4 separate regions of the Homo sapiens genome follow, and all the other regions are linked to region 2. Evidence: promoter capture Hi-C in 16 types of primary human blood cells and fetal thymus (Javierre and others, 2016). All regions are on one chromosome and are shown on one strand. The core of a region is centred on a gene start or on the middle of the fragment in contact, and the rest is flanking DNA. Distances in the headings are between cores, read along the strand shown.

Region 1 (2,700 bases), core at 63-2,562, 900 kb before region 2:
CTAATGACCAGTGGTGATGAGCTTTTTTTCATATATTCGTTGGCTGCATAAATGTCTTCTTTTGAGAAGTGGCTGTTCATATCCTTTGCCCACTTTTTAATGGGGTTGTATTTTTCTTGTACATTTGTTTAAGTTCCTCGTAGATTCTGGATATTAGCCGTTTGTCAGATGGGTAGATTGTAAAAATATTCTCCCATTCTGTAGGTTGCCTGTTCACTCTGATGATAGAAACTAGACTTTTGGAAGTTACCAGGTTACCTCCTTCCTGCATTCAGTGGCCTTTTCTTACTCTGCAGGCTTTTCAATCTTCTAAGCATGTGATCTTGTCAGTCCCTCCTTTCTGAAAACTTTCTTCTCTCTTTGCTTCTCTGAAGCTGAATTCTTGGGATATTTTGTGTGTTTGTTTTCCCGACCACCTCTCCTGTTTCTTCTGTTTTTTTTTTTTTTTTCCTCAGTCCTGTTTGTCAGAGCCAAGTCTTTCTGCTTGCGTATTTTCTAGGTCAGCTCATCAAATACATGGCTTCAGTTAATCTTCTCTATGTGATTGAAAAATTCACATCTCCAGCTATGACTTGGGATCATGCTCTCGTCCCATGTTTGGAGCTATTAGTAAGACGTTCTCTCTTAAATATTGTGAATGTTACCTTCAACGTCATGTCAATCATTGGTTGATGAGTATTTCCCCTGTTTTGTGACTCTCGTGGCTGTCATACTTCTGTCACTAGTTACGCGAGTTTCTCCTGTCCAAGTGTAGATACCTTGTAGTTAGGTAATTGTGTGGTGTGATTGCTGAAGGGGCCCTTGCAGATTGGTTCACAGAGGAGATTTCGTGATCTCCTTTTTCTATTCTTCTATGTTGTTTATATTGAATTTTCACCAAATCTGATCATTTGTTTCTTGTAACTGTTACTTGGGTTTCCTTTCCATTTTCACTGTCAGTGATTCCACTCCAGGTTCTCATTGCTTCAGGCCAGTGGTGCTGCAGTAGTCTCTTACTTGATAATATTCATGTAGTTGACATATATGTGGAGGGTGTAGTATGTGTCATCTTTTATCCCAAAGGCAGATTAGTTTTCAGAAAATTTATTTTATATTATTTAACTACTCAAGGATCTACAGTAGCTCTGTTATTTACTGCAACAAGTCCTTCCTCTTCTACCTGAGTTTTTTTTTTTTTTTTGAGACAGTCTCGCTCTGTTGCCTAGGCTGGAGTGCAGTGGCGCAATCTCGGCTCACTGCAAGCTCCGCCTCCCGGGTTCACATCATTCTCCTGCCTCACCCTCCCGAGTAGCTGGGACTACACATGCCTGCCACCACGCCCGGCTACTTTTTTGTATTTTTAGTAGAGGCGGGGTTTCACTGCGTTAGCCAGGATGGTCTCAATCTCCTGACCTCGTGATCTGCCTGCCTCGGCCTCCCAAAGTGCTGGGATTGCAGGAGTGAGCCACTGCGCCCGGCCTGAATTTTTAATGGAATAGTTCAGATATACACAAATTTTTGGGTAAATCAAAACATGTATCTTCACCTTTCAGCTTAAGAACTAAAATGACAAATACAGTTAAAATCTTTTTTTTTTTTTAAGAGACAGAATCTTACTCCATTGCCCCAACATGATCATAATTCACTGTAGCCTCAAACTCGTGGGCTCAAGAGATCCTCCCACCTCAGCCTCCTGAGTAGCTGGGATTATAGGCTCATGCTACAGGATACTGGCTAATTTTAAAATATTTTGTAGAGATAGGATCTCTCTCTCTTGCCCAGACTGGTCTTGAACTCGTTGCCTCAAGCAGTCCTCTTCCTTCAGCCTTCCAAAGTGCCGGGATTATAGATGAGAGCCAACTGCCTGGCCAGCTGAAGTCTTCTGTGTGTTTTTCTCAATTGAAATCCCTTCCTTTGAGCTATGTGTATTTTATTTTTCTTATTTTTTCACTTCATGTCTATCCTTAAACAATAGAGTATTGTATAAATGATATAAAAATATAAGTAGTCTTCTGCAACTTGCTTGATTCTTTTCCTTCAGGTGGTTTTTGAGATTTATTCAGATTGATGACACGTAGTTCTAGTTCATTCCTTTTCGCTGCCATATAGTATTCTACAGGTTGACTATACCACATTTTATTTTCTTGTTGCTGGACATTTGGATTATTTTAAAAATTTCAAATCTGTAACAAATGCTCATGAACAAGTTTAAGTTTGCCTTTGCACGTGTGGAGAATTTCTCTAGGGTATGCCTTTAGGAGTGGAATTTATAGAGTACCTATATCTTTTGACTAATAAAGAGATTGCCAAACAGCTCTCCAAAGTGACTTTACTATTTTCATCCCTGGCTGGCACCGGTCTGTGGAAGTTCTTATCACTTCTTGTCCTTAATAATGCTTGGTATTGTTAGACTGTTTAATTATTGTCAATCTGGTAGGTGTGAAAGGGTATCTTATTTGATTCTCATTTTTACTTTTTAAATTACTGGTTAGAGCAAGTGTCTTTTCATGGCAAGTACCTTTTCATGGCTATTCAGGTTTCTTCTTTCACATTTTACCTGTTCCATATATATTTATCTTTTTTTGCACTGATTCTTAGCAGTTCCTTATTTTTCTCTATGTTAGTTTATTTGTTTATTTATTTTTTTGAGATAGAGTCTCGCTCTGTCACCCAGGCTGGAGTGCAGTGGTGCGATCTCGGCTCACTGCAAGCTCCGCCTCC
Region 2 (2,700 bases), core at 133-2,632:
TGTGCTGTGGATGTTTCCAGGAAAAGAAATGGATTGAGAAGAAGGCAACGACTGTTTCTGGAAGGGGTTTACATATGCAAAGTTGAACTGGTCATTAGGATGGCCACTTCACTTGGGGAAAGAGGAAGGGAAACTGTTCACAAGTCACAACAGTCACCCCCTCCCCAGCACTGAAGGCCCATTCCTTCAGTTTGGGCCAAAGCTTGAGAGAAGGTGTATTTATTAAAATAGTTCAGAAAGTAATTCACTAACTCCATAGATAACTGTGTGCCAGAAACTGCTGGTATGTTGATGAAAAGGCATAGTCCTGTCCAACGGGAGCTTACAGCTTAATTAAACAGCCAATAGGCCAAGTGAGAATGATCCTAGCATTCCTTATCTGAGCTGGGTGAGCAATCACAGCTCACTGCAGCCTTGAACTCCTGGGCTCAAGCAATCCTCCCACCTCAGCCTCCCAAGTAGCTGGGACTACAGGCATGCACCACCATACCCGGCTAAATTTAAAAAAATTTTTTTTTAGAGATGGGGTCTCAAACTCCTGGCCTCAAGCGATCCTCCCTCCTTGGCCTTCCAAAGTGCCGGGATTACAGACATGAGCCACTGTGCCCAGTCCCTGTGCTGGCTCTTTTTGTCCATCTTGGGTAACCTCCTTATCTTAGATGGGGAAATTGAGTCCCAAGGGAAGAAAGGTCTTGGCCAAGGTCACAAAGCCAGGCGGATCAGGGGAAGGACGTTGCCGGACAGGAACAGTGTCATACCCTTTATAAAGTGCGTTCACACCCAGTAGCCTCAAACAGCCCTGTGTGGCAGGAGGGCTGGGTGGGGCTAAGGGAGGAAATAGGGCAGTGTGTAGCGGTATAAATGGCCCAGGAGTTGCAGTCAGACTTTCAGTGGAGTCCCAGTGTTGCCACCTGCTAGCTGCAGGACTTAATGTCAAACTGCTTAACCTATCCAAGGCTCAGTTTCTCCACCTGGAAAATGGACATAATGGTTCTTCATAGTCTGGTTCTCCCTCCATTAAACCAGGAGAAGGTAGTTATTTTAGGGGAAGAGTTTCAGTAGAGGTCCGGGTTGTCTACCCTGGAGTGAGAAGAGCTGAGGATGGAACTAAGGAGAAAATAAAAATGCATTATATTCTTCCCCTAAGATAAAATGTGACCATCTTCCTTCTGGGTGGGAAGCTCTGGCCCCATGACCTAGAGGGCTGGGGATGGGAGTGAGGGCAATCATTAGAAAACCTTTCTGGTATAGGAAGCCCAGTGTACCCCAGGGCCTAAGGGGTTAACACGGATGGAGAGACTCCCCACCCCACGATTGACTCGGGCATGCTGGGACTTGCAGGCTGACTGACCACCATGTGGCGCAGGGGCTGTTGGGAAATGTAGTCACTGTCCCGGAACCTGGGGCAGCGGAGTCCCGTGCGCCCTGTGGTGACAGCTCAGGAGGTAGGTGACAATGTCAGGGAGCTGTGGGTGGGAGCAGAGCAGGAAAGCCAGGGCAGGGCTGGGCAGGAGGGAGTGGGCAAGCTGAGGGCTGGGACACCCCCCAACCCCCGGCCTGCAGCTGATGCAATGGGCCTGCTGGGGCGGGGGTGAAGGGCAAGCAGCAATGGGACACTTCCTGTCTCCAAGGAAAGAGGAATGGGACCCTCCTGAATGACAGTAAGGGGATGTTCCCTGAACCCCACATGGACACACCACTGACACCTCCCAGAGAGGCGCTAGCAGAACAAAAACTGTCCCCAAAAGAGAGGAAGAGCCATGTCCTAGGAGCAAAGGGACTAGGTCCCCTTCTCCAATCCACGTACCCCACTTCCAACAAGGATAGACCACACTCAAGAGCAACTGGATGCCCTCCCAGACAAAGGCAGTATAGCAAACTGTAGATCCCAGCGGGGCAAAGGGACTGGACCCCTATCCCTAAAAACTGAAAGGCCTATTCTAGGGAGGACAAAGAGGAGGAGGAGGAGGATCAGGCCTCCCCGGTACCATCTCCCTCTGCAAAGGCCCCTCCCTCCTGCCCCCAACCCCTCTGAGGCAGCTCCACCACCCCATGCGTAACTTGTTGACCAAAGCGGGGCTCCTATCTCCCCTCCCACAGGGTGTGTGCGCTCAGCAGGGGCCAGCATGGACCAGTCTGTGGCAATCCAGGAGACGCTGGCTGAGGGGGAATACTGCGTCATCATATCCTTCCTGTGCTAACTGCGGCCCTGAGCCTGCCCTGGCCTTGGGAAGAGGAATGGAAGGTGTCGAGGTGTCTATCCCCTCTCCTGCCCCTCTGAACCATCAGGGGAGAAGGAAATCAGTATTTACTAAGTACTTACTGAGTCCTGGACTCTCAGCCAAATGCTTTAAATACGCAGTTATCCTCCTAACTCCCTATGAAGTTGGGGATTATTATCCTCATTTCATAGATAAGGAAGGCTTAGAGAGCCTGTTTGTCTGTTAGTTCAGCACATGGTTTGAGTGCTCACCCAAGGCCACACAGTGAATCTGGGGGGGCAGGGGAACAGAGGGAAGGTGGGACAGCCTGGGTGGGGAGAGGCCTCGCCTCTGGGTTGTCTTCCCTTGACTCTGAGCCGCAGGCGGTGCAAGGTGTGCTGTGTGAGGGGGACAGCCGGCAGAGCCGCCTCCTGGGACTCGTGCGCTACCGCCTGGAGCACGGCGGCCAGGAACACGCGTGAGTGAGGGGCTTGGTCCC
Region 3 (2,700 bases), core at 67-2,566, 880 kb before region 2:
AGTTAAAAACCCTGCTGTGCAATGAAATAATGCATCTGCTATTGGCGTAGAGCGACTGGGATGTTAATTCCCTGGTTTTGTGTCAGTTAAGGGCAAATTAGCCTTCCAGCACCAGTCATGACTCATTATGTCATTATGTAGAAGGCACTTACTGTACCTCCACTACTATGCAATTTAGATCCAATAAAAATTGTGACAGCGTTTTTATCCACTTCATTAAGCTACTAATTTCTTGTAAAAAATGTACATTAATCTTTTTATAGCTTCATGCAGAGTGGCATATTTTTAGACTCTAACATTGATTAGGTCCTGGTTAAGAATAATTTTCACAGTACTTTTAAGAAATGTAAATAAAGTTACAATAATTTAATTTTTCAACATAGTTATGACAGTATTGATCTTAAAATGAACATGTTGGCTGAATTAAATGTGTAGCCCAAATGAAATACAGACTGAATATTTAAACATGCAACAAATTACAAAGCACGGCTTAACAATACCCTGCAAACAGAATGAAGAAAGGGAGCATGAACCTTCATGGAAAATATCAATTGCTCATATTTTAAAAGAGGTAAATGGGGATTTTTTTGACATCTGACTTTCCCTACCCAAATGTTTAAAAAATACAGCAAAAAATAGTTTTCCCCTTTTGATTTTTCATTGCTTGTGAAGTATTAATGACTCTTCCGCCTGAATGACTTAGGAAAAAGTAGAAAAGAAGAAAGTTCCCTCTGCCAGCTAATTGTGATATTAGTGGGTCGGAGTCAGAGAAGACAGTGCCCAGGGTTTTCAGAGGGCACCGTGGGCGGTTGAGGGCAGAGTGTTGGCACCTGTGTACTCAGTGACAGAAGCTGCCCCCTTCACTCTAACCCTTCATCAACCCAGAGCTTTTGGAACAGGGCTGAGGAAGCCATGAGTCACGTCCTCATTGGCCGTAAAGGTGAGCTCTAGATGCTGGCTGGCATTTCACGCAATTACTCAGGCTTCCCATTAGATCTTGACCTGCCTCGCTGGACCTTGTCTCCTTGCTCTGGACTCTTTGAGTTGTGCTCTGACTTTGATCCCCTCTGGCAGTTGGTGTCTTTTGCTTTCCCAGGTGAACGAACCCTAGCTCTGTCTTGGCCTCCAAACCTACCCGGTTCTAGCCCCTCCACAAGTATCTACCGCATCAGCCCCAACGGGCATGCAGGGAGCTAGAGACCATGAATGATTAGGCTTTATCATAGGAGACACACAGAGTGTGAACAGAACCATGTTGGAGTCAAAGACTTAGATTCTTCCAGACAATATCTATGTCCCCTCTCCAAGCCTGTCTCTATCTCCCATTAGAAGGCTTTGTGCTGGATGATTGAAAAAAGTTCTAGGATACGAAGACCCCCTTCTCACTGCAGGAATTCCTCCCTGGAACAACCCAACAGGCTGTGCGTGGATCCTCATTTCCTTGTATTTTTTGAATGTATGGAGCCCTGTATCTTTCCAGAAGGGATTAAAGTGGAGGTAGAGAAGAGTTTCCTGCCTTATAGCATCTTCACTTCCACAGAGTCAGTGCAAGTCAGAGCTGTTCAAAGTGCTGTGAGCAGCCAGCTATGTCTCAGTACAAAAGATTCTGCAGCTGATGTTAAGAGTAATAATGATCTCCTTATCAATGTCCAGGTCCCTGACTCTAGAAGTGTGGTTGTCCACCAGCAGGATTATATGGGACCAAAGGCCTATTCTTAGCCCATAGCCCAAGCAGCATCTCTCCAGTCCCTGGGTGCTCCCTAAAGAGCCCATAGCAGCTGGAAACACCCTCTCTGCTTTGTAGCTGTCCCAGAGCGTGGGCTCAAATACAGCCTGCTTCCCTGGCATTTCTCAAAAGCCATTCCTTTTTGCAGTTGCTGCTGCTGCTTCCCAGATGTTAACTGCTGTGCCATCCTGTTCCTGATAGTAAAGCTCATTTTGATTGCCTTTTCCATTTGTACAGTTTCATTTACTCATTAGGAAGAGCAGTCTCAGCCTTTACCTCTGAGAGCGTCACCACCACTCTGTGAGGCAGGCAGATGACCCAGAGAGGCAAAGTGACAAACTCAAGGTCACACAACTGCTCTGCAGCGAGCAGTAGAGCCAGAAGTTAACATCCCGTGTTCAGTATATCAGAGATTCCAAAATGCCTTTGGTCATGGAACAGAATCATGGTTAAGAGCTTGGGCACTGGAGTTAAGGTAGATTTGGACTCAAACTCCAGCTCTTCCACTTACTAAATTCCTTAGCTCGAGTGCATTACCCAGTTTCTCTGACCCTCTGCTTCATCTTATCATCTTTACCAATGGGGAAAAATGCTTTTTAACCTCGCATGTTTATGCTGAGGAATTTTCTTTTTTTTTTTTTTTTGTTTTTTTTGAGATGGAGTCTTGCTCTGTAGCCCAGGCTGGAGTGCAGTGGCACCATCTCGGCTCATTGTGACCTCCGCCTCCCAGGTCCCAGTTCAAGCAATTCTCCTGTCTTAGCCTCCTGAGTAGCTGGGATTACAGGCACACGCCACCATGCCCAGCTAATTTTTTTTTTTTTTTTTTTTTTTTTAGTAGAGATGGGGTTTCACCATGTTGGCCAGGCTGGTCTTGAACTCCTGACCTCGTGATCCACCTGCCTCGGCCTCCCAAAGTGCTGGGATTACAGGCGTGAGCCACCGCACCCGGCCTGATTTTTTTTTTTTTTTTTTTT
Region 4 (2,700 bases), core at 67-2,566, 920 kb before region 2:
AGAGGAATGAGCCATATATTGGGGAAAATCATAGTTTGTAGGTATAATTATATAGTGCTTTTCTCCCTCAAAGTATTTTTCTAGCCTTGAATTCATTTTATCTTCATTATCCCTGTGAAGTAGGTGGGACAAGTATAAGGGGAAGAGGGGTGCTGAATTTTTAGGCCAAAGACTGATATTAATACAAATCACTCACTAACTGTAGAGCCTTGGGCATTATCAGTGAACTACTCTGAGATTTACTGTCTTCATCTGTTTAATGAGTAGAATGTCCGTGATGCCTACCTCACAGGGTTGTTGTGAGGGTCAAATGAGAATGTATGTGAAAGATTTGTAAATGGTAAAGCACTATATTCTTGTTTGTTAGTCCTTTTTCCTTTCTTTGGGTAGACCTACAGTCAGATGTTTTGTTTTATGGATCACTTATTTTCCTTACTGGTAGACTGTCGTTTTATAGACATATTCCTATTTCATATATTCTCTCCCTGTTGTTAGAGAACCTATCTTTGTTTTTGGTCAAAACACACATAGAAAACAAAATGATCCAATGAAAACTGGTTTAACTAGCAAAAGCCTTGGCACCTGTTGGAGACTATGACCAAGCCAATAAAAAGGGCATTTAAATCAGCCCTGTTAGTAGGAATGTGGCTATGGCTGGTGCCTCTTCTAGTCACAAGTTTGTTTTTGGAGGGGGTCCAGAAGATCATTCCCTTGCATAGATTTCTCTTTTACCAATTTGAGTGCCTCCTACATGGGCAGCAGTGGACTAAGTGCTGGGTGTGATAAAGAGGAATGACTTAATTATGAGACTGTATATAATCAAATACAGTGTGGGTTAGGACCTGTGGCAGACCATTATAATAAAGCATGGCCCCGTGAGGGTTTTGAAAGAGAGAGAGACTTGGCTTCCTTAGTTGGTATGATAGTTTCTTGGTAGATACAGGTTGAAAATTTTTTGTGGCAGCCAATCCTCATGGGCTTTTTACTCATTTGATTAGTATTAATATTTATGTCAGTAAGCCAGGTGACTGTGACTGTCTTTGGTACCATCCTTTTTGAACAGAAAGGCAACATGTGGGTTGGATAATCACACTTTTAGGTGAAACTGACTTGCTTAAACTGTAACAGTCAGTGCTATTTAAGAATTCAGGATAAGCTTAGCCTCTAGAGGTCCTCTTCAACATTTCTGTCAAGGATTTGGATGAATACAACAAGATGCTCCATGGAAGAGAAAATGGATAAATGGATCCCACCAGTTAAGCTCCTATTATGCTTCAGCTGCTTTGTCTATAAAATATCGACTTCACATCTTGCCTATCTCACAAGTTGGTTGTAAGAATCAAATTAAATATAATGGATGTAAAAGTGCCTTGCAAACTGTAAAGGATTACATACAGACCAGATGGTGGTAGTGCCAAATCTGTAAGTGACACAAATTGGAAAGTCTGGTTGGAAGACTATATTGAAACAAGCTTTAAAATGATTAACCACGTGGAATACCCAAACTGCTGGGCCTAAACCAAAAAGTTGAAGTATCAAGTCTTACATTTAGGTTAAAAAATGCAGTTATACACATTTAGGCACTAGGATTGCTGACAAAGTATTAGTTACAGTGATTATCAATGTGACCCACCCTATGGATGCTTAAAAAAAATTACATTCTGGAAAGCAGGAATAGAAATACTGTCTAGGTGTTAAATGGTCATTCTGAAAGTTGTACTGTTTAGTATTGCTTTGTAGGAGTCAGATGTTTGATGGATATTGACAAGCTGGAATGCATATAAAGAGTGACCAATAGAGGATTTGAATATATAAGGCTGGGCTCTCCGATTTGGTACACACTAGCTGCAAGTGGCAGTTAAAAATTTAAGTTCCTGGTGGGGTGCCGTGGCTCACACCTGTAATCTCAGCATTTTGGGAGGCCATGGAGGGTGGATCTTGAGGTCAAGAGATAGAAACCATCCTGGCCAACATGGTGGAACCCCGTCTGTACTAAAAATAAAAAAATTAGCCGGGTGTGGTGGTGGGCACCTGTAGTCCCAGCTACTCAGGAGGCTGAGGCAGGAGAATCGCTTGAACCCGGGAGGTAGAGGTTGCAGTGAGCTGAGATCGCGCCACTGCACTCCAGCCTGGCGACAGAGCGAGACTCCATCTCAAAAAAAAAAAAAAAAAAAAAAAAAAAAATTCCTCAGTTACACTAGCAACAATTCAAGTGCTTATTCCTCATAGGACTAGCGGCTACATGTTTGACAGTGCAGATAAAGAACATGTCTATCATGTATATCAGTTGTATTGAACAGCACGATAGGAATGGTTGAAACTGAGGATGTTCAGCAAGGAACAGAGAAGACTTAGTGGGTAATGAATACTGCAATCTGGTATTTGAAGGGCTGTCATGAAAAAGGTGAAGACTATTCCTATTTTATTCTATTATAGGCTTCAGGGAGTGTGGTTTGGCTTTAAGACTTTTTTTTTTTTTTGAGACGGAGTCTCGCTCTGTCGCCAAGGCTGGAGTGCGGTGGCGCGATCTCGGCTCACTGCAAGCTCCGCCTCCTGGGTTCAAGCCATTCTCCTGCCTCAGCCTCCCGAGTAGCTGGGACTACAGGCGCCCGCCACCACGCCCGGCTAATTTTTTGTATTTTTTTAAGTAGAGATGGGGTTTCACCATGTTAGCCAGGATGGTCTCGATCTCCTGACCTC

What was found. Contacts are between HindIII fragments. The CHiCAGO score rates a contact against its expected background, and 5 or more counts as called.
Region 1: a contact is called between a fragment that was not itself captured here and the fragment with the promoter of INPP5B in region 2, in 3 of 17 cell types (endothelial precursors, activated CD4 T cells and total B cells). The highest score is 6.6, in endothelial precursors.
Region 3: a fragment that was not itself captured here is called in contact with the fragment with the promoter of INPP5B in region 2 in 1 of 17 cell types (neutrophils); the score reaches 6.9 in neutrophils.
Region 4: a contact is called between a fragment that was not itself captured here and the fragment with the promoter of INPP5B in region 2, in 3 of 17 cell types (total B cells, M0 macrophages and naive B cells). The highest score is 6.4, in total B cells.

The regions. Positions count from the first base shown.
Region 1 is chr1:38,842,198-38,844,897 of GRCh38, reverse strand. All of the region lies in intron 6 of RRAGC (Ras related GTP binding C), which reads left to right. Among named protein-coding and RNA genes, the nearest start is that of RRAGC, 16 kb to the left of the region's middle. The HindIII fragment of the contact is 4,730 bases long and covers 1-2,700 here.
Region 2 is chr1:37,945,735-37,948,434 of GRCh38, reverse strand. INPP5B (inositol polyphosphate-5-phosphatase B) reads left to right here and starts at 1,382. Exons shown (of 24, transcript NM_005540.3): 1 at 1,382-1,445; 2 at 2,101-2,183; 3 at 2,585-2,679. The coding sequence starts at 2,127. It also overlaps a transcript of LOC105378651 not described here. RefSeq lists enhancers at 1,214-1,453, 1,031-1,560. The HindIII fragment of the contact is 11,910 bases long and covers 205-2,700 here.
Region 3 is chr1:38,823,875-38,826,574 of GRCh38, reverse strand. No RefSeq gene overlaps it. Among named protein-coding and RNA genes, the nearest start is that of RRAGC, 35 kb to the left of the region's middle. The HindIII fragment of the contact is 6,603 bases long and covers 1-2,700 here.
Region 4 is chr1:38,861,158-38,863,857 of GRCh38, reverse strand. MYCBP (MYC binding protein) reads left to right here. Exons shown (of 5, transcript NM_012333.5): 5 at 1-1,365. All of the region lies in intron 1 of RRAGC-DT (RRAGC divergent transcript), which reads right to left. GJA9-MYCBP (GJA9-MYCBP readthrough) reads left to right here. Exons shown (of 3, transcript NR_037637.1): 3 at 1-1,368. Among named protein-coding and RNA genes, the nearest start is that of RRAGC-DT, 2.6 kb to the right of the region's middle. The HindIII fragment of the contact is 316 bases long and covers 1,159-1,474 here.